Regions from separate parts of the Homo sapiens genome. Here all the other regions are linked to region 5. Evidence: promoter capture Hi-C in human tissues and cell types (Jung and others, 2019). All regions are on one chromosome and are shown on one strand. The core of a region is centred on a gene start or on the middle of the fragment in contact, and the rest is flanking DNA. Distances in the headings are between cores, read along the strand shown. Region 1 has its middle 220 kb from the start of TPBG. Region 2 has its middle 190 kb from the start of TPBG. Region 3 has its middle 150 kb from the start of TPBG. Region 4 overlaps LOC105377876 (a long non-coding RNA gene). Region 5 holds the start of TPBG (trophoblast glycoprotein).

Region 1 (5,125 bases), core at 1,923-4,422, 210 kb before region 5:
TCCCAGACTCCAGAACCGTGAGAAACAAATTTCTATTGTTTATAACTTACCCAGAGTTTGGTATTTTGTTCTAGCAGCAGGAGCAGGCTAAGATTGTACTAGTTAAATTTTGCAATTATGGGTAATTTGCCTGTGCCTGTGTGATAGAATTGATCATAGTATATCATAGTTAATTGTTCATATATTTGTCTTTTTTGCCCACTGGTAAGTTTCTTGAGAGCAGGGGTGGGAACTAGACCTTATTCAGTTTCGTTTCTCTAAAATATTGCCTGGCATAAATATTTATTGGATAAATGAATGATCAATGTATTTGAGAAATATCTTTAGTTTGAGATTTGTCTTCACCCATCTTCTTTGCTAGTCTCACTGAATTATACATGTGTGTTATTTTAAATCTCTGCCTATGAAGGTGAAAAAAGAAAATCTGTCTTTGCACAATCTCAAAAACAACTAAATGTAAACAAACATGAATAAAATTCCAATCTATTTCTTTAATAGAAAAGCCCAGTAGCAAACCAATATGATTTGAACAAGGGAATTATCTCATTATGGAAAACACATTATGCCCGTATCAACCATTTGCCTTTTTATTGTGGCACAAACAGAAATAAAATGGTCCTGGAATGAAATGAATTGAGTCTTTGAGGGAGAGGTTGCAAAACGGCCCCCTGCCTCCTTCCAGCAGAATGATTTGTCAATACAGAGAGGGCCCCTTCTGGAAAAGGATCTCCTTTCTTTGAAAAGAGCACCTGAAACAAGTGTTACAGCTCCGACCTGGTTACTGAGACCTCCCAGGGCATGCACATATTCTTTCACTGTGCTGCCACAAATAGGCAGGTCTTCACTGGGGACTAGGAGTCTATATTTAACAGTAAGAGTTCATTTTATTCATTATAACATCATGGAAATGACATTTGGGACATTTTATCTGCATAAAGTAGAATCTTTAGAAACTTCTGTTTTGAAAACCATTTCATATCCTCTCAAAACAATGCCTTTTGTTAAAATATTTCTAGTATAGGACTAAATTATGAAGCATTTACTGAAGAAATGAAAATATTCCAGACAGCAAGCAGGCAAGGCAATGGCAATGGCTCAAAAGAACTGAGTTATAAAAAAAATTATCTAAATAGTGTAACATCTCACTTATCAGGACTCCCTTAATAAATAATTTTTGACAATTCTGATAAAATTGAAACTGAAAATAACTTCTACTTCTGTAGAAGAACAAGACTTTTCTTTCTTAAGTAAAGAAATAGCATAAATATGATGTTTATTTGGGAAGAGTAAATAAAAGCCCATTTAATAAATACCTATTTGATAGCCATTTTCAAGTACTTTGGCCCCACAAACCTACATGTACTAGGCGTATTATAGTATAACATTTTCTTTATTCCTTTAACTTCTCTTCTTCATTATCATTGGTGAGAAGGTTTTGTTTTCGTTTTATTGCAAAATAATACATCAGCCCTGAGAGATGATGAATATTGGCCAAAGAAGAATCTGTTTAGTCTTATAAATACTCCACAAATGCTCCCAGAATGGATCCAGGAATAGCTTTCCATAGTTTGACAACAACAAGCAATAGCTGGAAGTAGCTGAGATGCTATGGGAGGACTGAAGGGAAAATAGATTTTGGGGTGCCCATTCCTAGATAACTCTGAATGACCTGACAGGGACCCAGAGGAGACAGGACAAGGGATGTTGTGACTTTCCTTTGGAGTCAGAATGTTTTGAATTGGCTGCTTATAAATTTGTGTTCTTTCTGACCATGGTCTTATTGGCATGCCCTTCCAGGTAAGTAGGTCCTTTTGGCAAGGTTACACTTACCCCATTGTTAAAGGTGTCCTTTTGCATAATTCTCCTCAAGCACTCATAAACAATAAAAATGTATTCTTTAAACATATGTTAGAAATCACATTTTAATTTTTACTGGCCTTCCTTTCTGTTAGCTTTGCTCATCTCTGATCTCCGAATGCTCTGATGTTTCCAAACAGGCAAGTCCTTCAATGTTCTCTCATTTTCCTTGTTTGTCTACCTCCTCTGGCTCTGCTGTAGATTGGGGTCAAGTTACTTCACAGTAGTAGGTCCTTGTTTTACATTCTTATAATCTCCAAAGAGCAGAGTATATAACAGGAACATAAAAGTGTTCAATAACATGTATTGCTTGTTTGAAATTTTAAAAATCGGAAAGCATAAATCAAACAAGGTTCTTCTGATTTCAACTCAGTCTTTTCTCTGCTTTTCTTAAATCTCTTCTTGAAAATTTTAAGAAAAAGATGTAGGTATTAAAGTCACAAGTTTAAAAAATCAGAATAATAATAATAAAAGACCTTCCTTTCTGCCAGAAGCAAGAGTGATACAAACGTGAATGCACTGAATCCTCTTCACCCACATCGTGCCATAGAGCCTGTTTTATAAGTTAGTTATAAGCTGAGCTCTGTTGTTATTCAACTGATAAAATATGTGACATGTTTCATGTCAGATACAACTACTCAGCAATTTTTCACCCACTGTGTCTTCTTGCTGCAGATCAGCATCCCCCTACAACCACCGACTGAGAACCTTCATCGTTCTCACCCCCTGCCTCTTCTCCACCCATTATGCACAGTACAGCAAGAGGAAATGGTAGCTCTCATCTTAGAGAAGAAATGGAAAACTCTTTCTTTCTCTTCCCTTCCTTATACTAGATGTTCCCAAAGGGTTATCCCACCACCGATCATCACATTTGCTAATGTGAAGCCACAGCAGTTCCTTTGTTACATGCTTTCATCATCAGCCCCATGTCCTAATGAATTGACTTGAGTATGTACACCATTGCTCTCCAGAGGAATATAATGGGCCTGCTTAAAAACAACCACCCTTTCCCATGCTGTGCTAGTTCATTTTCAGTAAACACTCTATATCAGAAAATGATTTTTTGCTCTAGCAGTGATTTTGTGAGAAAAGATTGGGAAACACTGCATATTGATTATTGCTGAGAAAAATATGAAAATTAACTGTTAGTTTTTTTCTAATTGTTGGATAGATATTGAATTGAAAAATAATAATAGTAAGATTACTGGGCTATTTGTTAAGAAACTGGACTATCTCTTAATGCCAATATCATTAGAGGTTCTTTTTTTGTTTGTTTAAGTTTCTTGGTAGTTTTATATCATAGAATCATAGAATCTTAGAAGTAACCTTATAAACCCTCTAATCCAGCCCCATTAATTTAACTTGGGAAAAAGTTAACAAAAGAATAAATACTCATAATAGTATATTATACTTCTTTTTTTAAGCTTAAAAATTAAATCTTAAATTTTAGAAAAGATTTTATTTACAAGACATTGCAAAGATAGTACAGAGAATTCCTGCATACCCAAAGACAATTTACCTTATTATTAATGTCTTAAGTTAATATGGCACATTTGTCACAATTACTAAACTGATATTGATATATTAGTATTTATGAAAGTCAATACTATATTCAGGTTTTTTTAGTTCTTTCCTAATATCTTTTTTCTGTTCCAGGTTCTCATCCAGAATACCACATTGTATTTATTTGTCATGACTCCTTAGGCTCCTCTTGGTTGTGCCAATTTTTCAGACTTTCTTTGTTTTTAATGACCTTGACAGCATTAAGGAGTACTGGTCAAGAATTTTGTAGAACACTCCTCAGTTGGGATTTGTCTAATGTTCTTCTCATGGTTAAGCTGGGGTTATGGGTTTGCGGGAAGATACCGAGGTAAACCGCTCACATCCATTAAGGATACGTACTATCAACATGATTAACATTGTTAATGTTAACCTTAACTATCTGGCCAGGGTAGTGTCTGCCAAGTTTCTCCACTACAGTCACACTTTTTTTTTTTAAACCATTTTACATATTGTACTCTTTGGAAGAAAGTCACTTTGTGCATCCCTCTACATAGATTATTTGGAATTCTTCTGCATGGGAGATTTATCTCTTCTCCCTCATTTATTTATTAATTCCAATATTTTATATACATATGGACTCATAGATAATTACTTTATACTTTGAGATGTGATATAATACTATATTTATTTTATTGGTTGAATTGTTCCAGCTTTGACAATTGAGAGTGCCTTTAATTGGCTTCTGTGCACTTTTAATATAATCTCATTGGTTTGTGTTTTTGTTTTTTTGGGGCATTTCCTACGTTCTGGTAATATAGATATTCCAGGCTCATCTTAAACATTTCCTGCTCCAATCCTAGAATCAGCCTTCTCTTCAGCTATCCCTGGTTCATTTTATTGGAGAATGATATTAGAAACTAGTATCTGGATACCGGTTTTACTCAATGCTATTGGAATGTCATTGCTTGTATGCACTGTGAGCTGGCACAGCAAGGAAATACCTGCATATGGGTATATACTAATCTGATTATATACACATATCTATAAATATTTCTATATTTTACCAACCATATAAATATTAAGCTAAACATGATTTCATATTGATGTCTCCAACTCTAATCTGTTACCCCATGGATTGTTCCAGACTTCTCCCCTTGCTTATCTATGACCTTCCATTTCACCAGTGAGAAATCTGGCTTTTACCACCTGACATCTACTTAGGTAATTGTTATATTCCACATATACTGATTTTAGAATTACTAACTTATATCCCTGTGGGAAATAACTTTATCAACTATAGAACAGTGCTTAGGTATAGTTCCTTCTGCCTTTTGTCTTATAGACACACTCATTTCCAAAATCACCTAAGTTAGTACCTTTTTCCTTGTTGATGAGGTTATTTCATAGCTTTGTAACAAAATTAGATTTTTTTTTGGCAGGGGGTCACAGTCTATATTCCATACTGGGATCCTTCAACCTTTAAATGATTTCTGTTAAATTTGCATATAATAAGGTTCACACTTTATACTCTAAAATTCTATGGGTTTTCTCAAATGCATTGTGTCATGTATCCACCATTAAATATCATAAAGAATAGTTTTACTGTCCTAAAATATCCCATGTGCTTTAATTATTTCACTTTGTCCTAATCCACCCCTTCCTGAATCCCTGGAAACCAGTAATCTGTTTACCATCTGTATAGTTTTCCCCTTTTCAGAATGTCATATAAATGGAAAGATACAGACTGGCCTTTTCAGGCTGGCTT
Region 2 (5,216 bases), core at 1,157-3,656, 190 kb before region 5:
ACCACTGCTCTCTTCAAAGCTGTCAGACAGGGACATTTAAGTCTGCAGAGGTTACTGCTGTCTTTTTGTTTGTCTGTGCCCTGCCCCCAGAGGTGGAGCCTACAGGGGCAGGCAGGCCTCCTTGAGCTGTGGTGGGCTCCACCCAGTTGGAGCTTCCAGGTTGCTTTGTTTACCTAAGCAAGCCTGGGCAATGGCAGGCGCCCCTCCCCCAGCCTCGCTGCCGCCTTGCAGTTTGATCTCAGACTGCTGTGCTAGCAATCAGCGAGACTCTGTGGGCGCAGGACCCTCCGAGCCAGGTGTGGGATATAATCTCGTGGTGCACCGTTTTTTAAGCCGGTCGGAAAAGCGCAGTATTCGGGTAGGAGTGACCCGATTTTCCATGTGCCATCCGTCACCCCTTTCTTTGACTCAGAAAGGGAACTCCCTGACCCCTTGCGCTTCCCAAGTGAGGCAATGCCTCGCCCTGCTTCGGCTCGCGCACGGTGCATGCACCCAGTGACCTGCCCCCACTGTCTGGCACTCCCTAGTGAGATGAACCCGGTACCTCAGATGGAAATGCAGAAATCACCCGTCTTCTGCGTCGCTCACGCTGGGAGCTGTAGACCGGAGCTGTTCCTATTCGGCCATCTTGGCTCCTCGATCTCCGGTGACTGCTTTTAAGTTGCATGTATGAGTTACAGCATTTCTTTAAGGGTGACTTTGTTTAAATGCACATGATGCCTGCTAGTGTCATATTCCTTTTTCTTCTTCAGAGCCAATGAGTTAAGGACACTTCGCTAGGGATGGACCATCAATGAAGAGTTCTGAGTTGGATACCTGTTTAGAAGCTAATATTAATGTATAAACCTGCCAATGTTAGGAAGAAAATGCTAAAGTTCAATAAAAAACATTTTCTTTTACTCAAGTAAACATTTGATATCATAACCAATAGACTTTATGTTTACCTTCCCTTCAGGATTTAACCTCCAGGTAAGTTTTCTCGTATTTGATTGTGGAGTAGAGCAAGGCTAATAAAAATCATATCACAAAGTGTATGATTCAGAGGGATACCAAAATCAGTTAATAAGCACCCTGAAGAGGACTGAAATATAAGGAATTATCATCATTGATTTGTAAAGAAAAAGTCCTGTTGGTTTAAACTTTTATAACAAAATATCTGGCTAGGGTACAATGCAAAATAATAGATATAATCTTTCCTGACTTTGCAAGACTTTTGAATTTGTCACATATAACTTCTTCAGAAACCTGGAAAAATATAGGTACATCATTACCTGGTATCTGAATTAGTTGGGCTTTGACATGTGTGATAGGATTAAAGGGGTTTCACAGAGGAATTAGGGCCTCTGGGATATGGACAGAGCTGAGGAGTGAGGGTTAGGGAGGCTGTATAGGTTAGAGGCTAGGGAAACAGTTACCTTAACCTAAAATGTATGTCCTCTAAATTTTGGGGGGAAATGGATGAAATTCCCAATACTCTCTAGAAAAGCTTCCACCAACAGAGCAGTCTGAAGCAGCAAAGCAGGCACTCTGAAGAAGCCTAAGGAACCTGTTTACCAACACGTTTGGCCTCCGCAACAATTGTTCTTGGGCATAATGGCTTCTCTTCCCTCTGCCTTCCCAATCTTGCATCAATTGTTTTCACTGGCAAATTCTAATATGCAATCACACAAAAAAGAACATTCTATGCAATGGATTTCCCTACACATCTACATCACATAGGAGGGAATGCATGATGTCAGGTTAACAACAGACCATCCAGCAGTCTCCAAAGAGTGACTACTACTTGTCACCTCAAACAAATCAGACTTTGGCTTCCCCATGCAGACCACACCGAAGAATATTATCAATCTTCTGTTGACAAATGATATAAAGGAGACCATTCTCATTTATTCATTTATTTTCCCATGACAACAAGCTAGACAGTAAAATGAGAGATTGAGTGGCCAACATGTTGAACTGGAATTAGGATTAGAATCAAAAATTAAGCATATACAAAATGCTAGATTTTTATAAAGCACAGTCATGTGGGAGAAATGCAAAATTGCACACATATAAATAAAAATGGACTGACTAAATGTGTTAAAAAAAAAGAAACTATTTGGTGATATTATGAAAACAGAGTCTTAGAACTTCTGGAAACTTTAGGAATTGTTCAGCCTTCCTTTTGCCTAAAGAAAAGTACGAAGAACTCAAGTTTGAATAAAGCATCCAGGGAGGAAGCAATGATAAGGCTCTAGGAGGTGGCATTCACCTCTGCCCTGGGTCTAACTCTGTCTTACAGATGCAGAAATTTGTTTTCTTTGATGATATAGTTGATTAAATATAGAGCAGGCTGACACAAATTGGGTGCTAACAGAATACCAATTTGTTAACTTTCTATGAAAAATATAACTGCCAGAGACCAGAAAGTCATGTTGGTCTGAATAGCACCTCTGCTTCCTATAGGCAAGTGACAAGGACAGCCAAATCCCCAGTGGGTTCCATGGTTGGTGTAATGACAGCAAGATTTCAGAGCTACTATAGCAATCTCCACAAGGAGACCATCGTGGCCAAGTGTCAGAATAACCTGACCAACACCCTCTTCCCTGGATATTGTTTGGGTGGGCATTGCCAAGATCTAACTCTGTGATTCTCCCTTTTCAAGCTTTCCTGGTTGATCAACACCTCTTCTGAGCAACACCATCTTTCTCATAGTATGTGATCTTTAATCAAATGACCATCCTGTTGGTTCTGGATTTTTTTCCCATTAAATCTGTCTTAATCTGGGATGTTTTATATTAATTTTATAATTTCACTCTCATAGGGCAATCCTATAGTTCTTATTTCTGGCAACTTACTATTATATGTCATATAGGCTGTGGTAAGCCAATGACCATAGGGAAGTCTACCAATCAACTGAGGGCTTTATCAATCTCTTTCCAGTATCCTCACTTCTGAATTTAGAGAAAAGCGTAAAAGGGAAATAATTCAAAGGAAAGCCAGTGAAGATGATTTATAGTTTTGAGAATGACTCATGGAAGAGTCAGAAGTACTGGGAGAAAGCTGAGGATGGATATAATAACAGTGTCCAAAAATGCTGCATTGTTAAACATATGAGACCAAATTATTTTGCAGCATGAGGGAGTTAGGCTTGACATAAAGAAGAACTTCCTTATGGTGAGAAATGTGACAGATGAATAGGCTACCAAAAAAGGTTTGGCAATCTGCTCTGCAGAGGTTGAAAAATGAATATATTTTCACTTATTTTAGGCCATAGTTCTTTCTGAAAGCAAATAAATGGGACACATAGCATTTCAATTTTTTCTAGGTCTGAGATTCGTGGATTAATTTTCTCAGGAATAGAGTAATGAATCCTTTCACAGTTAAGTGAACTCAGAACTTCAGTTGGTGATCCAAGGTAAACTACAAATAAATTCCTTTTTGTGCCCTGGTTTTAACTTCCTTTGGGCAAAAGAAAAAAAAACTATTTGAAAAACTGATATAACCAGACTGCCACACATGCATAGAGTTGAACATGCCACATATTGTAGGTAATTTCAAGGGATTCATGAACTCCGCACAGCTTATACAATGAGCCACTTAAGGGTCAAGGGACTCAGGTTAAGAATAAAACAAAACACACAACACTCTTCCTGGAAGAAATGTATTCTTAACCCAGAAATGGGCAATTCTATTTTTACATTTATAGCAAAATTCTTCTGGAATCTTTTCCACCTCATGTATGCCTTCGCACCATAAGAAACATATGGCTTGAACATCTCTTCCTTCTCACTTTTTTCTCTTTTGTTCTGCCTCCTAATTTTTTTCTTCCTCCGATTCTCTCATACCCTCTGCTGTCTTCTTTTGTTCCTTCCACTCTGTCAGGGTCAGCCTAAAGTTTCTTCATAGCTCCCTAAAACTAAATCCACAGCAATGACAGGCTCTTAAAAACCATATTTCCTAAGTCCAGATTTATGTCACACCTACAAGTATGTGTGGCAGAACATCACCTATGAGTAATTGTACAGAATTTACATGAAAATCCCATGTTTTTCAACTTCTTGCGATTTGGGATCTGAGTGGCCTGAAAAACATAGAAGACATATGACAGCCACATGGCTTAAGTGTTTAGATCTCAGATGTTTCCCCATGGAGCCTGGCCAATGAGGAATTCTTTTGGTAGCACTTAAGTTGCCTCATTGCCATCTTTAGAAGAGCTCCTCAGGTTCTAGAGCCACTGTTGTTTTTCTAGAAAATCTGGACATTCCCTTGGGGAGCACATACTAGGCATGGTTTAATAGAGACTGGCTACACAGCTGGGGGTTGAAAGCTATGGTATAGGGTCACCACAGCATCACCATTTAGGAATGAGTGGGCTCATTTGTTTTAAAGGAATAGTTTGGGAGGGCAGGAGATTTTTATCGAATAAGGTATTAAGGAGTTCTTCCAAGTGTAGCATTTTTTTTCCCTCTGGTGTCTACACTGGCTGCTTGTTTATGTATTTTTCTTGGGCCTGAACAATTTTCAACTTTGAATTTCTCCTCTGCAATCTGTGAATAAAGAAAATGGCTCTGGATAGAGTAACTCGACTTCTCTTTGGCAGATCTCATGTATCCCAGAAAGTGACAAAGGAGAGAAAGATTGGAGAGGTGAAGGGAATTGCCAAAGGGGCAGAAATGAGAAAAGAAACTAAATTCCTTGAAGTCTTCCCTGACCCCTGGGTGATTAGAACTTTCACCTTTTGAGAATCCAGCACTGTAGGGATTCCTTAGATTATAGATAGAGCAATTATAAATCTGGAGACTGGTTAAAGGTTGATAATAACAAAACTTTAAAGATAAGCCTTCTGCTAAAAGACATAATCTGTTTCAGTTTCAGAAATCTTTTAGTAGAATCTTAGAAATGCTTTTTCCCATTATGTTCTGTCTTTTCCCATAAAGAATGCAGCGAATGAACTGAGTTCTGGAATGTATAAAGTGCAAAATAAGATCACAAAGAGAAGTAAGCCATCCAGATAAGGAAAATAACTATATCCTGCTCTTCTGCTGGCAGGATACTTTGAGTCTGGAGTTACTCTTGTTATGTGATGGTCATAAGACAACAGTGGGTGGTGAAATAAAGCAATAGCATTGGAGAGAACCCTGCTGTGGGCTTGAAAGATTTGGCATGATGACTATATTTGAGGACTCTGATGTTAAAACAGATTTGGGGTTATTTGATGGGCAGTTACTTGAACT
Region 3 (5,643 bases), core at 2,165-4,664, 150 kb before region 5:
TTTGAAGGAGAAGAGGCATCCTTATTTTTGCAATTTTCAGCCTTTTTGTGCTGGTTTTTCCTCATCTTCATGGATTTATCTACCCTTGGTCTTTGATGCTGGTGACCTTCGGATGGGGTTTTTGTGTGGACATTTTTTTTTGTTGATGTTGATACTATTCCTTTCTGTTTGTTAATTTTCCTTCTAACAGTCAGGCCCCTCGACTGCAGGTCTGCTGGAGTTTGCTGAAGGTCCACTCCAGACCCTGTTTGCCTGGCTGTTTGCCTCACCAGTGGAGGCTGCAGAACAGCAAAGATTGCTGCCTGTTCCTTCCTCTGGAAGCTTCGTCCCAGAGGGGCACTTGCCAGATGCCAGCGGGAGCTCTTCTGTATGAGGTGTCTGCTGGGAGGTGTCCCCCAGTCAGGAGGCATGGGGATCAGGGACCCACTTGAGAAGGCAGTCTGTCCCTTAGCAGAGCTTGAGCACTGTGCTGGGGGATCCACTGCTATCTTCAGAACCGACAGGCAGGAACGTTTAAGTCTGCTGAAGCTGCCCCACAGCTGGCCTTTCCCCCAGGTGCTCTGTCCCAGGGAAATGGGAGTTTGATCTATTAGCCCCTGACTGGGGCTGCTGCCTTTCTTTTAGAGATGCCCTGCCCAGAGAGGAGGAATCTAGAGAGGCAGTCTGGCTAGAGTGGCTTTGCTGAGCTGTGGTGGGCTTTGCCCATTTCAAACTTCCCAGTGGCTTTGTTTACACTGTGAGGGGAAAACTGCCTACTCAGGCCTCAGTAATGGTGGACGCCCCTCCCCCGACCAAGCTCCAACATCCCAGGTCAACTTCAGACTGCTGTGCTGGCAGTGAGAATTTCAAGCCAGTGGACCTTAGCTTGCTGGGCTTTGTGGGAGTGGGATTTGCTTAGCTAGACCACTTGGCTCCCTGGCTTCAGCCCCTTTTCCAGGGGAGTGAATGGTTCTGTCTCGTTGGTGTTCCAGGAGCCACTGCGGTATGAAAAAAAAACTCTCGCAGCTAGCTCAGTGTCTGCCCAAATGGCCGCCCAGCTTTGTGCTTGAAACTCAGGGTGCAAGGCTCAGAAAATAGGCTACTGAGTTGGGACATGGAATCTGTGGTTTTTAAAAAATTTCATAGGAGATTGTGATGTACAGTCATGTTTGGAAACCACTGACTTAAAAGATAGCTACACTTTTAGCAAGAAATAATTATTTCCTATAACAAATTTCACATACTTTATAAGGGCAATATAGCCATGAGATACTTTTTCACCATTTGTATTACCATTTACCACAAAATGACTCCCACAACCTATGTAAAAGTGGACTTTAAATTCTACCCCGTTAGGGATTTTTCTTTCCAGTTAGGAATACTCTTTTCACTTTTCCTTGCTCAAGTGCAAATGTCCCTTAGTAGGGTAAAATATAAAATCACTAACTGATTTATACAATTTTCCTTATGAGATACATTTATGTTATGCTTAAAAGCATCAAAAGGGATGAAGAAAGAGAAAGAAGAGGATGGGAAAGAGGTGAAAGGCTGGTCTCAATGCTTTTACATTGTTTTAAATTCACATGTACGCCAGACTTTCCATTCACTACAGACTTGTTCCAAAAGTTGAATACATGACAATGAGCAGGAAACCACAAAGTTCAGATAGTGGCATGGCACTCCCATATCCGCCTCAAGGTGTATGCTTTCAAATGTGAATCTTAGTGAAATGATAAAAAAAATCTATACCATAAAATATGCATGAGTTGAGTGAGAAAAAAAGTCTTCCTACACACCCATGCCTCAAAATAGCTAATATTTTAGTTTAACAATTCTGTGAAACTTCAAACAAAGAAAAGCTACATGTCCCCGCCATCATATCCCTCCAAAGTTCTGATTTATCTATTAAATTTATGAAGGTTTATGGTTCAATCGAAGAGATATTTGCAACAAAAAAGATAAAGCCTAGATGATGGTTTTCTATTGTCTGGGATCTCTGTTGTCTGCTATCCTCTTTTTGGGGTTATTCTTATTCTAGGGACTTCATAGATTGCAAAGTGGAATAGCCAGTATGACTGGGCCATTCTCCCAGATTTTATCAGCTGCTCTTCACAGAAGACATGTAACTTGCTTAGGTGCTCTGGTGCTTGGACTGTAAGACCTTCCTCTGTGGTTCCTAGAATTCTGTTCTCTAAAGTAATGAAATTTAAAAGTTAGCAAAATTTGTCATTAGCACCATTTCCCTTCCTTAAAGTCTTCATCTCTCCTTCCCAGAGGCCCCCCTTTACCTGCTGCCTTCTCTTTGCTGCATACCTTCTTTTTATAACACCCTAATCTCTACTGCTGTTCTCAAATAGTTTGGGGGGTTCTGGACCTCCTCTACTAGTTCCAGTTACAGAGGTGCCCCAATCCTAGCTAGCAAATCTAATGAGCTAGTTTGTTTAAAGTGTTAATAACCAAAATGATTTAGGTGCTACTTCCTTGAGGCTAGGTACTTATTTGGCCTGAACCTATCTAAGCTTTATTTGGGAATAATAGTATTAAATAACAAATTTTATATTTTTAAACACTCATGGATACTGAATTTTCTGAGAACTAAGGTGAGAAATTTTCTATTTTCCATAATCAAGAGTGTCTTCTCAAAATCTAATAAAATTTAAAGAAACCATCTCTGGTTTTAAGTATTAGAAATGTGTAATGATTTACTTTTCTTGTTTAAAATGAGTATTTAGGAGGTCCTATTTCTGCAACTGAAAATAATCTTAGTCCATAAAAGTCTTAGTTTGATATGTAAAATTGCCACAACTTTAGTCTTTATCAAGAATAAGATATATGTATAGATATGACTAAAAACTACTAGCCTAAGCAAGATTTGAAGGTTAGCATAAGTGTCACTGAAAGAAATAGAATTTTTTTCAAATACTTTGCAAGACTGCTCAAGTTAGGAATAGCAATGGAATTGCTCTCACACAAATCATACTGTTGCTTCCAGAATCTGGGACTGGCAAAATGACCTTTGATAGTCAAAGTTCATATACATGCACATGACTAGTCTCTCAATTCTAAATAAGAATTAAAAGTATTAAATATCTTTAGTTCATACTTTTAGGTATTTGTTAAATTAATAGGAAGATGAACAATAGTCCTTTCATTTTATGAATGAGGAAATGGAAAAACAAAAAGGCAAAGTGACTTTCCTGTGGCCACAAGGAAAGTCAGTGGCACATTTCCAACATATTTGATCTGACCCTTCTTGCTAGACTATGCTCCATTTAACCAGCTAAAGCACAGCAAACTATAGTATTTGCTCCCATAACTTTTTTCTTTTTCAAAAAAGGTGTAAAAACACTACTGAAGTGTTAAGGTTGGGCAGCAAAGCCAGATGTGGGCAGATGGCAGACTATGTGTGAACAGCCCTGATGCTTGCAAGGTCAACAGAAGGCTGTGGGGTGTTCATTTGAAATTATATGCAAGTTTGCACTCTCTTGAGGCACAGTAGGAGGAAAAGCCTTCCTGCCTTCCCATGACAATTCAATATAAATGAAAATATGTATTTCTGTAGGTAAGTGAGGGACCCGAAAAGAAAAGAGTTAATACTGACATATGCATTCTCTGCTTCTTGCTGTCAGTTTAGCCGTGCACTTGCCTTTTAATCCTACAGATCCACATGTGCATAGGGGGACATATATACCAGGTTATTCATTGTAACATTGTTTATTAACAGGGGGCAGAGGAAATAAGATTGCTATCCATCAGTAAGCTAATGGACTGTATTTAGTCAGGGTTCTCCAGAGAAACAAAATGAAAGGCATAGAAACACACACACACACACACACCTCAAAAAGTTCATTGAAAAACAGAATTAAAAGATAAAATATATAAACTATTTCTCAACATAAGCTCTTTCAAGTTCAAGACACTCTTGTAAGCAATGATACCAGCCATTTAGTCCATCCTTTAAGAACTGAAAGTTGTGGGAATTCGCAGTCTTTTTTACACATTATTACCTTAAGAAAAATTGGTGCCCTTTAGAGATTTTTTTAAGATAAGGAAACAAAAAGAAGTCAGAGGGAGGCAAATCAGGACTGTAAGGTGGATGTCTAATGATTTCTCATTGAAACTGTCACAAAATTACTCTTATTTGATGAGAGGAATAAGCAGGAGCATTGTCATGGTGAAGAAGGACTCTCTGGCACTTTTCTGCTAAAACTTTGGCTGTTTCAAAGCCCTCACATAATCAGACATTATTGTTCTTTGGCCCTCCAGAAAGCCAACAAGCAAAATGCCTTGAGCACACCAAAAACTGTTGCCATGACTTTTGTGCTTGACTGGTGTGATTTTGCTTTGACTCGACCACTTCAGCCTCTTGGTAGCCATCACTTTTACTGTGATTTGTCTTCAGTATTGCACTTATAAAGCTGTATTTCATCTCTTGTTATAATTCCTCAAAGAAAATCTTCAGGATCTTGATCCCACATATTTAAAATTGTCATTGAAAACTCTGCTCTTTTCTGCAGTTAATCTGGGCACAACAAATTTTGCACCCATTGAGTTGAAAGTTTGCTTAACTAATTTTTCAGTCAGAATTGTGTAAGCTGAACCAATTGAGATATCTACGGTGTTGGCTATTTCTACTGTTAATCGTTGGTCTTCTTCAATTAGGGCATGAGCAAGATAATTTTTTCCCTTGAAAATTGACGTGGATATTCTTCCATTGCAGGCTTTATCTTCAACATCGACTTGTTCCTTCTTCTTCTTTTCAACTTTCATTTTAGGTTCAGGGGATATATATGCAGATTTGTTGCATGGATAAACTATGTATTACAGGGATTTGGTGTACAGATTATTTTGTCACCCAGGCAATAAGCATAGTACACAATAGGTAATTTTTTGATCTTCACTCTCCTTTCACTCTTCACCCTCAAGTAGTCTGTCGTGTCTATTGTTACCTTCTTTGTACCCACCCACTTATAAAAGAGAACATGTAGTATTTGGTTTTCTGTTCCTGTATTAATTCACTTAGAATAATGGCCTCCAGCTGCATCCATATTGCTGTGAAAGACATGACTTTATTTTTTTATGGTTACGTGGTATTCCGTGATGTATATGTACCACATTTTCTTTATCCAGTTGATAGGAATCTAGGTTGATTTCATGTCTTTGCTATTGTGAATAATGCTGTGATGAACATACAAGTGCATATGCCTCTATGGTAGAACTATTTATATTCCTTTGGATATATACTCAGTAATGAGATTGCTGGGTCAAATGGTAGTTCTGTTTTAAGTTATTTAAGAAATGTCCAAACTGCTTTCTACAATGGCTGAACAAATGTACATTCCCACCAGAAGTGTACAAATGTTCTCTTTTCTCTGCAAACTTGCCAGCATGTGTTGTTTTTTGACTTTTTAGTAATAGCCATTCTGACTGGTGTGAAATGGTATCTCATTGTGGTTTTGATTTGCATTTCTCTAATGATTAGTGATGTTGGGCATTTTTTCAAATGCATGTTGGTCACTGTATGTCTTTTTCTGAGAAGTGTCTGTTTATGTGTTTTGCCCATTTTTTAATGGGTTTTTTTTTTGCTTGTTAATTTGTTTTAAGTTCCTCTGGATTATAGAGATCAGACTTTTGTTGGATGCGTAGTTTGCAAGTATTTTCTCC
Region 4 (5,649 bases), core at 1,786-4,285, 250 kb before region 5:
AATGGGTTGAATGGTGGCCTGCCAAAAAATACATCCATGTCCTAACCCCTAACCTAAGAATGTGACCTTATTTGGAAAAAGAGTTTTTGCAGATGTAATTAAGGATCTTGAGATGAGATCATCCCAGATTATCTGGATGGGCCCTAAATCCAATGTCCTTATAAGAGAAGACACAAACACAGAAGTGAAGGCCATGTGAAGATAAAAGCACACATAAGAATTATACAGCCATGAGCCAAGGAATGCTTGGAGCCATCAGAGCTTCCTAGAAAAGGCAAGAAAAGATTATCTCCTCTAGCCTTTGGAAGGAGTACAGCCCGGCTGAAACCTTGATTTTTGGACTTCTGGCCTCTAGAACTGTAATAGAATATATTTCTCTTGTTTTAAGCCACAATTATCACAAATTTGTTTGAAATTTGTGATAATTTTTTACGGAAGCCACAGAAAACTAATATACCACCATACTTTGCAGATGACCAGAGCTGGCTAAAATCCTTAGAACCCACAAATAATAAAAGGATTACAGTCTTCACCCTATCCCATACAGGTTAGGACCTGTAATTTGAAAGAAAATCATTTCTAAATAGAAAAACAAATACCCATGCTGAAATTAAAATAGTTCCCTTTCAGCTTTTCTGATTATAAGATTCTAAAGAGTTCATAGAGTATGATTTGTTCTTTTGCTTCTTTTTTCTATTTTTTTCATTGCTCCATTTCTTTGGCTGTAATGCTTTTTTTTTTTTGCAGAACACAAACAATAAGCCAGCTCATAATGTGGGAATAAAGTGATACAGCATGGGAAGCACATGGTGCTAGTCACTTGGTAACTAAATATGCCTTCTCTTTATTTTGGGACTGGTGATGGGGTGGTGGCAAGGGTATAATGAAGACGAGACATACTTTGTTCCTTGGTCCTATCTACTGACTCAGTGGTTCGAGATCTATGAGGTAGAGACATGAGACAATTCTCCAGATAATTTGAATTAACTCAGCTCAACAGATTCATTCTACCTTGCAACTGGCATTTGGTGAATCTCACAGTTCTTCATTTCTGCACTACAGTTTTTCCAGTCACCAGATGAGGTCATCTGTGTTCTTCTCATTGAATTGTTCTAGAACCATGAGGCAAGATGTATCTGGGTCTGATTCCCAAGAAACAAATCTTAAAATTATTTTCCTTGAGTGGATGAGGAAAAAAGAAGCAAGAGCTTTCTCCTTGAGATGTTTCTGGATTTGTAGGTGGCTGATTGAGTGGCTATGAGCCGTGCATGAGCCTTAGCGTTTCTTCCAATTGAGAGTGAAAATAGCATAATTTCTTTGGGAAACTTTTTACTGTCAATTATATCTTACCTCCTGGAGAGACTAGCCAGACAGACTCCACTGACAATATGTAAAGGAAGCATCTTAAGTGCCACTTAGTTGTCCCCAGAGCTTTAGTCACTCATAATACTTCCTCAAGACTGTAAAAACATAACCCAAAATTATTTTACCTTTTTTTAAATTGAAGAATTCTTTGACCTTTCTCTAATAGTTGCTCCCTAGAAATTTCTTCTAGCTGAAGCCATACTTTACCCTGGCCTTCCAAACAAGTTAATGTCTTTGTACGCAGGTTTCCTCGTATTCGTTTGAAAATGGGGAAAATAATAACGACATTTCTTTCTTTTTGAGCCATAAAGTTATTTTCTGAACTGACTTCCAATTTATTTAGATCAAATAGACTAGCACTGTTATCACTAACAAGCATTCATATATCTGCCTTATCCCTACGCAAATGCGGCACATTTGTTATATACTACAGCAGATTCTTGGTGTTCGACTTCCTGTATCTTAAGTTAACCCTGAGTTCAGTCTTAGTAGAACTTAGCAGCTGATACAACTGTGTGATATACTCACTGTTTATAGCCAGCTTCTGTTCTGATTGACTGGTGTCCATGTTAAATACTTGGAATATCACCCTTGTTTAACTGCCATATTTTAAAACTGATCAGTGAAATAAATGGCTATAGGAGTCCATATAGTGCTTGTAAAGTACCACAGTGTTTGAAAAAGATTTTATTTCCTAAAATATGGTGAGTTAACTCCCAATCTTGGAAAGGAATGGGAAATCTAATGGGCAGTATTATACCTTGTAACCACTTAGGTTTGTTACTCCATTTAGTTTAAATGATAGATGTTGGAAGAGGCAATCTTCTTCTGTGGGCTCTGAGTATTCCTGCATGCTCTTTCTGGGTGTGCCAGCCAAGAACACAGGGTCTCGTCTGCTCTTTACGAGACATTTCTTAGAGTTGAGTTTGTAGTGAGTAACCTAACCTTGAAAGATGAGGTAATATTTTCCTGGAGACCAAAGGTAGGCTTGCTTCTGTTTAGTATAAAAACAATAAATCCCCAAGCTCAGTGTTCCTTTCCTGTAAATACAACCCATTTTCTTTGCAGGCATCCATCATGAGCCCTTTGTGTTGCCCCATACAACTTGGGGCACATGGGGACCTGAAGCAAGCAACCATGAAACTCTGGTCACTGCTTTTGCTATGAGTAATAAAGTCTTTTGTCTCCATCCCAGGAGTCTCATGCCTTTTGTCAGCCATCAGTGAAATAGTAACAGGCTCATTTGTTAGTTTGTAAGTAGAATAAAACCTTAACTCTTGCAGAGTTCCTGAGGGTTTTCAAATATTTCTTATGTAAACCCCAAAATAGGTCCTATAATGTTTATTTATATTGTTTCAAACAATTAGTGAACATAAACAGTATAGAATCTTGGTCTTTTATCCTGACTCTACCACTGAGTAAATGATCTTGAGTAAGTTTTTTTTTTCTTGTAGGCTTCTGTGTTTTCATCTGTAAAATGAAGGGGTTCAACTGTGCCCTGGGGAGTTGATGACAAGTCACTTCAAGGGCACTTGCATTAGTCCCTGGTTGTGGGTTGTTGGCTATGGCTGGGGACAATGATATAGCTGTGTTGACTGGCCTGGTCTCCTACCCTCAGCAGGGCCAGCAGCTGTAGACACTGTCCCTCATCAGCTCTCTTTCATATTTCTCTTACGTATGATTTCCTCCACACTTTTCCTCATACTTCCTAACTCTCTCATTTCCTTTTTCTCGGGAAAAAAACAATGCAGATCATCAGAATTTTTTCCTTTCTATCCCTTGAGCCACGGACTGTGCTCTGGATACCATCCATCTTATCAATCCAGGGCTGACACCTGGCAGGAAGAGATGACATGTGGTTTCAGACCACACAGTCATTAAAGTCTCTAAGAGTTCAGCAGAGAGGGAAATTACTATGAACTGGCATGTGGAAGAATGGGGAAGAGTGACCTGGACCTTCAAAGCTGGCATTCTGAAATACAGAAGGAGAGCCCTGCCTCAAGGACTTGCCTTCTAAGACTCTTTCCCTACAGGAATGTAGAATATTTATCTCAACAGGGAACACAAAGAGCTGGCTTTTGCTAAGTTGATCCACTGTCCCAATTTGCCAGAATTAAGGGTGTTCTTGAGACATGGGACTTTAATATGTTAAGCCAGGACAGTCCTGGGCAAACTCTACTAACATATTCTTCTAGATCCACACTTTGTGGTATAAGCTTTATGTCATAAGGTCCTCAAATATTAAGGTTTTGGAAGCTCAGACATCAAGAATTTGATGTAGCCCCCACTCCCCAAATATTGCTGTAACAATGTGCTTAGGAAAGGCAATAAACACCCCTGAATAAATGGAAGAAAGAAAAAATTAGAAAACATAGTAGAAAATGTTGGTTAACATAACATGTATTATCTTCCTATAGCTATCTTTAATAACTTGTAAACTAAAATGGTTTCATTATGATCCCTTTCTAATTAATTTCTAAGTAATGGGAGTGAAAATACTCATGAAAATATGCTTAGAGCAAAGAACTGATATAGAAAAAAAAATAAAAAGTGAAAGAAAAGGGCATAGAGAGAATGTATACCTATATAGCGAAAAGCAACTGTCAGGACATAAAATTAAATATGATTAATAATGGTTATCTCTGGGTGTTTATTTTTATTTCAATATTTATGCTTTTTTGTGTTTCTAATGTAACTATAATAACCACATATTACTTTTGTAGTAAAAAATAGCTGTTAATTGCAGCTTAAAAAATGAGAGAAGAAAAGATGTGTCAAGACCACAGTGGGAAGGACTATGTTAAGAAATATTAGGATTTCATGCTGGAGACAATGGAAATCAATTGGTGGCTTTTAAGCAGGAAAACCACTTATTGTTCTTGATCAGAGGAAGAGTTTTAGATCAGATTTTTGAAAAGGATCCTGATGGCACAAAGGGAGGTATTGCCCTGGCTGGAATATTTGGTTTTAAACATGGGTCTCTTATTTTCAAATCCAAAAGTAATAGAAGTGCGGGTCCTCTGACAGGTGACTTGAGATTCATTCAGGCCAGAGGGCCCAGCCCAGTGCCTGCCAAATATTTTGACATAGGTGAGCATTTATTTCTCCTACTCAAGTGGCCTGCCCTTTTCTTCATCAAAATCATTTAAAGGTCAGCTAGAAAACTTGTTGAAATTGTCAACTTCCACTTTCTCTGAATTTCTGGTAATCTGAAGTCTTCTGAGTTTAGCATCCCCCTTTCTGAAGTCTGAGTTTTTATGAGTTTGATTTTATATGATTGGTTGTACTAATTTGTAGTGATATATACTACCATGGTGCAATGAGGAACTGTGCAAAGAAACAAAGGATGTTTGTTTTATTTTATTTATTTATTTATTTATTTTTGCTAGATATGTTTGTTGGGGTTTGGGACTTTATGTAATTCTGTAATCACTTGCCAAAGAGAGAATTTGACTAAAAATAATATAGAGGGGCTTCATCAAGGAGTGTTTATAGATACATTAATTACTGTGACTTCGCACCAGAATATGAAGGAAATTATGACTTGTACTGAGTGCTTCTTAGTTCTCTTGCATTTTATTTAGGAATGAGAGTTAGGGGATTCAATGTGTGTGCTAAGGTAGCATGCTCTAGACAACACTATAAAACCATGAGTCACCTAGGGTCTCTGAGGGAGGCCTTGGCTTCTCTAACTGTGGAATTTAAAGCACACAACTGTATTGTGTGATTTTTTCTGTTCTGTGTTTTCAGCAGCATTATCTGAAAAGAATTTTCAGTCTGCTGCTTGTATGCCATGCTGTTGTCATCTTACTGAAACATGAAGTGATTTAAGCTTCACAGCTGTTATTGTTTTCAATGGAGCAGCTGCCTGGCACTTCCAGGGACAATGACAGGTTCACATGGAGGCTATCTATGCAAATTACAGTAGAAGGTTGAGCAATAATCTGGTGAATTTGATCATTACAGACAGTCTAAATAATTCAGATGCAGATAGTGTAAAGTTCTTTCACTGGCCAGAGCAATGCAACAAATTGCTTTAGTTCCTTCACTTGATTTAGTGACTTTGGACTTAGCCTTAGTGATCAATTTAATAACCAAATTCATAAGAGACTGATGTATGAAACTAAATGCCAATTTACAATGAGAACCACAGTTCATGCCAGTAGATTCTCTCTTCATAGGAAGAGCTATATGTGAAAATTACTATAATCAGAAGATGAACTTATAATAACAGCCTGAGCAGGCATAGTCAGCTGTTTTAATCAATAATAATCTCAGCTGTAG
Region 5 (5,407 bases), core at 1,787-4,286:
TCAGTACATTTTCATATAAACTGCAATCAAAAAAGTAATTTACTTTGTCAAAGAAGTTATGAAGTTGCAAGTTATTTTTTGTAATATGCAGAACAGTAAAATGTAAGCATGCTCTTGGATGCAGGTGCTCCTGTGCACCATGGAGTTATTTTGAAGAGCCTGCTAACGTCTGCAGGCAGTTTATAGGATGCAATTATTTTCTCCACAACTTAGGTACATGAGAATAAAACTGATATTTATGAATAAAGTATTTTTCTCGAAAAAGTTGAGGCAGCTTTTGTTGAATGCTATCTGTGTGGGTACACTTGCTACACCTTGAACTGTACTGAGAGAGAGACAGACAGCAAGAAGCCCATGTTCATGCTGAAACCTGAAAAATCCCTCCATACGTGTTGAGGAGTTCCAAGAAAAAGAAGAGGGTAAAACACTATACACAACTGTTCATCGTCTTACATTAACAGAACACACCGAGAAACTTTACATAACAAGGAAGCAAATCCCCTTCACTGCTTTTAGTCAAAGTCCGTTGTATCTATAGTGGAGGATGAAAGTGGAGCAAGCCTAGTAGGGATAAAGCTTAAGTCTACATCTCATGCAGAGTTGTCCTTGGTCTGTCCTCTAATATTTCTCAGACATCCGAGTTAGAACTGAGGTTCGTTAATCTGGGGTCCGCATTGATTTCATATCTGTAATGATACCCTTCCATGTGATCCCTGCAGGCATCTCTGATGTTATGCATCCACTTTTTTATCCCCTTGCGGTTCAAATACAAAACCAGGAGGAAAATAGCGCCTATCAGGGCTAAAACAATACCCAGGAAGACATAAGAGGTTTGCAGGGATGGGGGAAGAATCGGGTCACAGTCCAGGTCAGCACTGTTGAGTTCCAAGAGGACCCGATTCCTCATTTTTTCCGGATATGCACAGGTGAGCCGGTCTTTGCCCTGCACTACCTCTGTTTCCTTGAGCCAGGTCACCATGTCTGCCATGTGGCAGTCGCAGACCCAGGGATTGTTGTCCAGGAAAACCCTAATGTGGGGTAGACCTTGCAACTCAGCCAGGGTGCCATTGTGAAGGACCTTGAGGGCATTGTCCTCCAGGTGGAGGCTTTCTAGATGTGTCAGGTTGCGGAAGGACACGTAGGTCAGGCTCACCAGCGAATTATTACTTAAGTCCAGGTGCCTGAGGCTGGGCAGTTGGGCCAGCACATCCCGCGGCAGGTAAAGGAAGTGGTTGCTGGCCAGCTCCAAGCGGCGGAGCCCCTGCAGTGCACGGCCCGCCAGCAGGGCCGCCACCACCATGCCCTCGAAGCTCCGGTTCTGCCGCTCATCTTCAGGGGGCACGATGTGGTTCAGGATCAGTTCCACAAGGGGACTGGGGGCCGAGACGCTGGCATTGCTGCCCGAGAAAGCGAAGGGACTGAGGTCGGCCAGTGGGTTGTGGCTGAGGTCGAGCTGGCGCAGGCTGGGCAGATGCTCGAAGGCGCCCGCGCGCACCTCGTCCAGGCGGCTGCCGCTGAGGTTGAGCGCGGCCAGCTCCGCCAGCGGCGGCCGGCGGGCGAAGGCGCCGGCAGGGAGCACGGCCAGCTGGTTGCCGGTAAGGAAGAGGTTGCGCACGTAGGCGGGCAGGTCCGTGGGCACCTCGGTCAGATTGCGGTTAACGCACTTGACTGTGCGCGCTGCCTCGGAGCACTCGCACAGCGCGGGGCACTGGTCCGGCAGCGGGGGCTGGGCGGACACGGCGGAAGCCAGGAACGGCGCCGAGGAGGAGAAGGAGGATGCCGAGGAGGTGGGAGAAGACGAGGAGACCCAGCCCAGGAGTACCAGCGCTAGTCGCGCCAGCCGCAGACGCCCGTCCCCGGCGGCGGGGCCCCGGGAGCACCCCCCAGGCATCGCGGCTCGCGTTTCCCCGGAGCTGGGCTGGGACGGCGCCCGCTCCGAAGGCTCGGGAGGCTGGGCCCGGAGGGCGCGAGCCGGCGGAAGCGTCTGGAAAAAAAAAACTTTCCTCTCGTGGAACCGAGGGAGTGGCGCCGCAGCCGGAACTTGGCTAACCCCCTCGCCACCGGGCGCTTCCCTCAGGGGCCGATTCCCCCGCCCCTTCCCTCCAGAAAGTACGCACGGCGGGTCGGGACGCTCCGCTCCGCGCTCCTGCTCCCGCTCCTCTTCCTGCCGCCGCCCTGGTGCCACCTCTTCGCCTCTTGTTGGCGCCCCTCGCTGGATCCTCTGAGGGACCTGGGACAAGCAGGAGAGAGGCGTGAACAGCGGTGGCTGCCGCGGCTTCCGGAGTGCAAAAACCGGCCTTTTCGAGTCTAGTCGTCTCCAGTCTGTCCCAGAGACCTCCTTCCAAAAGCCCGCCCCGGCCTCGCCTCCCCAACCCCTCCGGTCACTTTTACTCCGGAGGGGGACGCGCATCCGACACCCAGACCGCAAAGTCTTCCTTCTTCCCTGGCCCACACTAAATAAACCCGACCGGCCTCCCGCCCTCCGCCTTTCCCGAGGAGACTCGTCTCCCGCGTCTAACTTACCGCTTAATCCCCAATTCCTTCCCTACCAAACTTCTCCCTCTCCCGTTCCTTCCTGCACCGCCTCGGCGGAAGGTCGGCCTCCGGGTGTCTCCGCCCCCGCCCAGACCTCTCCACCAGGTCCCGGTTAGGATGCGAGGGAAGTTTCAGGTTACAGGACTTTTTGATCTCTTTTTGTACCTTCTCGCATTAGCAGGAAGTGGAGCTACAACTGTCGCCCCCCAGCCCGCGCCCCGCCAGCCCCTCGGATCTCAAAGGGGTTCAAGTCATCTCCAAAGAGGAGGGGAGAGTCTGGGAACAAAGCAGCAGTGGGACTCGGGGTACAGTGGCAACCCGAACCAACCCTACTCTCCACCCGAGGATGGGGAGGGGCCCCAACGACGCCTCCCGGGTCTCTCCCAGGCCGCGGGCTCCCACTGCTCACCTCCGCGTCCGCCGCCTCCAGAACCAACTCTGAGTTCCACCAGAGTAGCGACGACTTCCCGGCTCCGCGTTGCGGGCGCCGACTCTCTTCGCACCCCAGCCCCTGGCCCAACCTCCCAACCTCCGCAGCTGGGAAAAACCAACCCGGGGGGCGGGGGAGGGCCAGGACTGTCGGGGAGATTCCCGACGCGCGGCCAACCTCGGCAGCCGTAGGTAGGGGGATTTAAGAAGAGAGACTAGGGGAGCTGGGCTGCGCGCCTCCTCCTGGTGGAAATTAACGAGGAATGTGCCGGAAAAGGTGAGGGAATCCCTTTCTCTCCCCCCTCCCCGACATCCTTGGGTGGTTCCTCATTTTGCATACTGTATTTACCTTGGACTGGAGCAAAACCGCTGGTGAATCTCGTGGAATTCACCCTGATTCAGGCACCTTTGGCAGTGACGAGATAGATTTAGGCATGACAGAGCAGCGCGAAGCAGCAGCAGAAAGAAATGAGCTGAAAATCTACTGCGGCAGCAGCAAAGGCACGGCAGGTTGTATGGAAGCTTCAGAAGCTCTCCCCATCAAAGTGGTACTTGAGGCCGCAAACTTCAGATTTAGGTGTAATTAATGCCTTCCCGCCTGTCCCCCCCGCCCCCTCACTTCTTGGGTAGTGATGGAACTTGTGAAGAGAGCGCGCCAACTTTAAGAGAGAGAGAGAGAGAAAGAAAAAAAAAAGATTAGTGGAGAGGAGATTCATTCCTGATTCATTAGCTTTTCTCTTACCAAAATTAAAAGCAGATGGAAGAGAAAGGCAGCCAAAGGCATCCCAGAAACAAAAGGCAAATAGCAAAGACTTGAGTCTCCCGGAAAGCGGACCCGCCCCCCTCCCCAGATGTAGCGCGGTGTGTCAAGTCACTTCTGTGGAGAAAGCTCCAAGGATGAGGAGTGGGGATTGCAGGAGCTGACCTGGGAGAGAAGTTTGGTTTCAAAGTCGATTGTCCCAGGGGGCATCTGGCAGATGGTGATGGAGAGGATGGGGTTGGGGAGAGGGACAAATTGAATGGTTGGTTACCGGAAGGATCTGTTATTATACCAGACAGGTTTTGGGTTCTGAAAGCCCTATCGTTGCTCTCTGTAACTCCACATCCCCTTTGTCCCAATTAAATAATTTCCCCGAAGGGATAAGAAGGTTCTTCCAGGCTTCTTCATTTTAGAGAGAAAATGGCAATTAGGGAAAACATGGTTCGGAAATTTAAGACCTGGTCGTATTAAAAAAGATCAAATAAGGATCCTGAGGCTTGTGCCTGGGACATGTGCCTTTAGTGTGAAGAAAGACCCCAACTCTCCAACGGACGCCTGATTACTTTTATAGAAAGAGATAGTCTGCAAAGCCGACAGCAAAAATGGCTCAGACAAAAGCTGAAAACACTGGAAACTGCAGAGATTTGTGCACAAAAGCTGGTTTCATTAATTTGCATCTTCAGCACGTTTATCTACATCTCTTTTCTTATTTTTAAAAGTGTTTTGCAACATGAATGTAAAACACTTTGAAAAAGAATCTCTAAAGCTGTAGTCATGTTCTGTATCCGGATTGTGGTGGTGGTTACATAAACCTATACAACGTGTTATAACTCATAGAACTTTGTAAACCAAAAGAGTCAATTTTACTGTATGATAAGTTTAAAAATAAAATTAATTACTCATTGGAAAAAACCTGTAATAATGCTCTGGCATGGTATTAACTCTGGTCCTGATCTGAAGACCAACTGCTTTGTTAGGAGAGTGAGATACACTTTAGAATTTAGAAACATAATATATATACTCATCTGATTTTCAAGACAACTCAGAGGCAAGATAAATATTGTTAGTATTATTGCTTGTTGCTATTATTGTTGTTGTTCTGTTGTACAAATGAAAAAACTGGGGCTTTAAGTTAGCTTGACTGAGTGTCTTCCACTTGCCAAGCACTGTGCTGATCACAGATATTATCTCATTGACTCTTCACTTCGGTACTCAAGTTAGGTCCTCTCACTCCAGTTTTACAGACAAGAAAATTGACGCAAAAATAAATTACATAACTTGTTCAAATGAGTGATGGAGGTGGGAACCAGGCCCAGATTTGCCTGCCTCCCATATAGTACATCCCACATTCTGCCTCTAGGCAAGATTAAGGAGTTTGTGCAAAGTTCTACTCTGTTCCACTTAGGCAGAACGTAAACCTCACCTCTTGTTCCCTTTTTACTTCTTCTGCCTCCACCTTCCTGCAGCTGGCAATTGCTTATGGCTGCTGAATAGGGACCCAGAAATTTAGGGTCATTTCTAGCTCTGACACTTGCCTGCTGTGTGTCTTCTATAATAGGACCACTAATGAAATTTGAAGATATTTCCATGAAAATTGAGATAAATATGTCACATACTTAGCAAAATCATCTGTTTTGATAGTTCTCTCCTAAATTACCCCCCTCATGTTATTTATTGTAATCC

The links. Contacts are between HindIII fragments. The study calls those that stand out against the background at their distance.
Region 1: a fragment that was not itself captured here is called in contact with the fragment with the promoter of TPBG in region 5 in 2 of the 25 tissues and cell types used here (hippocampus and mesendoderm cells).
Region 2: a fragment that was not itself captured here is called in contact with the fragment with the promoter of TPBG in region 5 in 2 of the 25 tissues and cell types used here (mesendoderm cells and neural progenitor cells).
Region 3: a contact is called between a fragment that was not itself captured here and the fragment with the promoter of TPBG in region 5, in 1 of the 25 tissues and cell types used here (liver).
Region 4: a fragment that was not itself captured here is called in contact with the fragment with the promoter of TPBG in region 5 in 3 of the 25 tissues and cell types used here (H1 embryonic stem cells, IMR-90 fibroblasts and lymphoblastoid cells).

Annotation. Positions count from the first base shown.
Region 1 is chr6:82,576,569-82,581,693 of GRCh38, reverse strand. No RefSeq gene overlaps it. Among named protein-coding and RNA genes, the nearest start is that of TPBG, 220 kb to the right of the region's middle. The HindIII fragment of the contact is 4,593 bases long and covers 876-5,125 here.
Region 2 is chr6:82,553,826-82,559,041 of GRCh38, reverse strand. No RefSeq gene overlaps it. Among named protein-coding and RNA genes, the nearest start is that of TPBG, 190 kb to the right of the region's middle. RefSeq lists enhancers at 1-356, 357-989. The HindIII fragment of the contact is 4,446 bases long and covers 184-4,629 here.
Region 3 is chr6:82,507,737-82,513,379 of GRCh38, reverse strand. No RefSeq gene overlaps it. Among named protein-coding and RNA genes, the nearest start is that of TPBG, 150 kb to the right of the region's middle. The HindIII fragment of the contact is 4,007 bases long and covers 1,411-5,417 here.
Region 4 is chr6:82,612,257-82,617,905 of GRCh38, reverse strand. The region is part of intron 5 of LOC105377876 (a long non-coding RNA gene); the gene reads left to right. Among named protein-coding and RNA genes, the nearest start is that of TPBG, 250 kb to the right of the region's middle. The HindIII fragment of the contact is 8,326 bases long and covers 1-5,649 here.
Region 5 is chr6:82,361,446-82,366,852 of GRCh38, reverse strand. TPBG (trophoblast glycoprotein) reads right to left here and starts at 3,036. Exons shown (of 2, transcript NM_001376922.1): 1 at 2,945-3,036; 2 at 1-2,230. The coding sequence starts at 1,891. The coding sequence ends at 629. LOC105377875 (a long non-coding RNA gene) reads left to right here and starts at 3,196. Exons shown (of 3, transcript XR_942738.4): 1 at 3,196-3,241. RefSeq lists enhancers at 622-1,523, 1,524-2,426, 2,578-3,089, 3,090-3,603 and a silencer at 1,476-1,555. The HindIII fragment of the contact is 6,837 bases long and covers 2,032-5,407 here.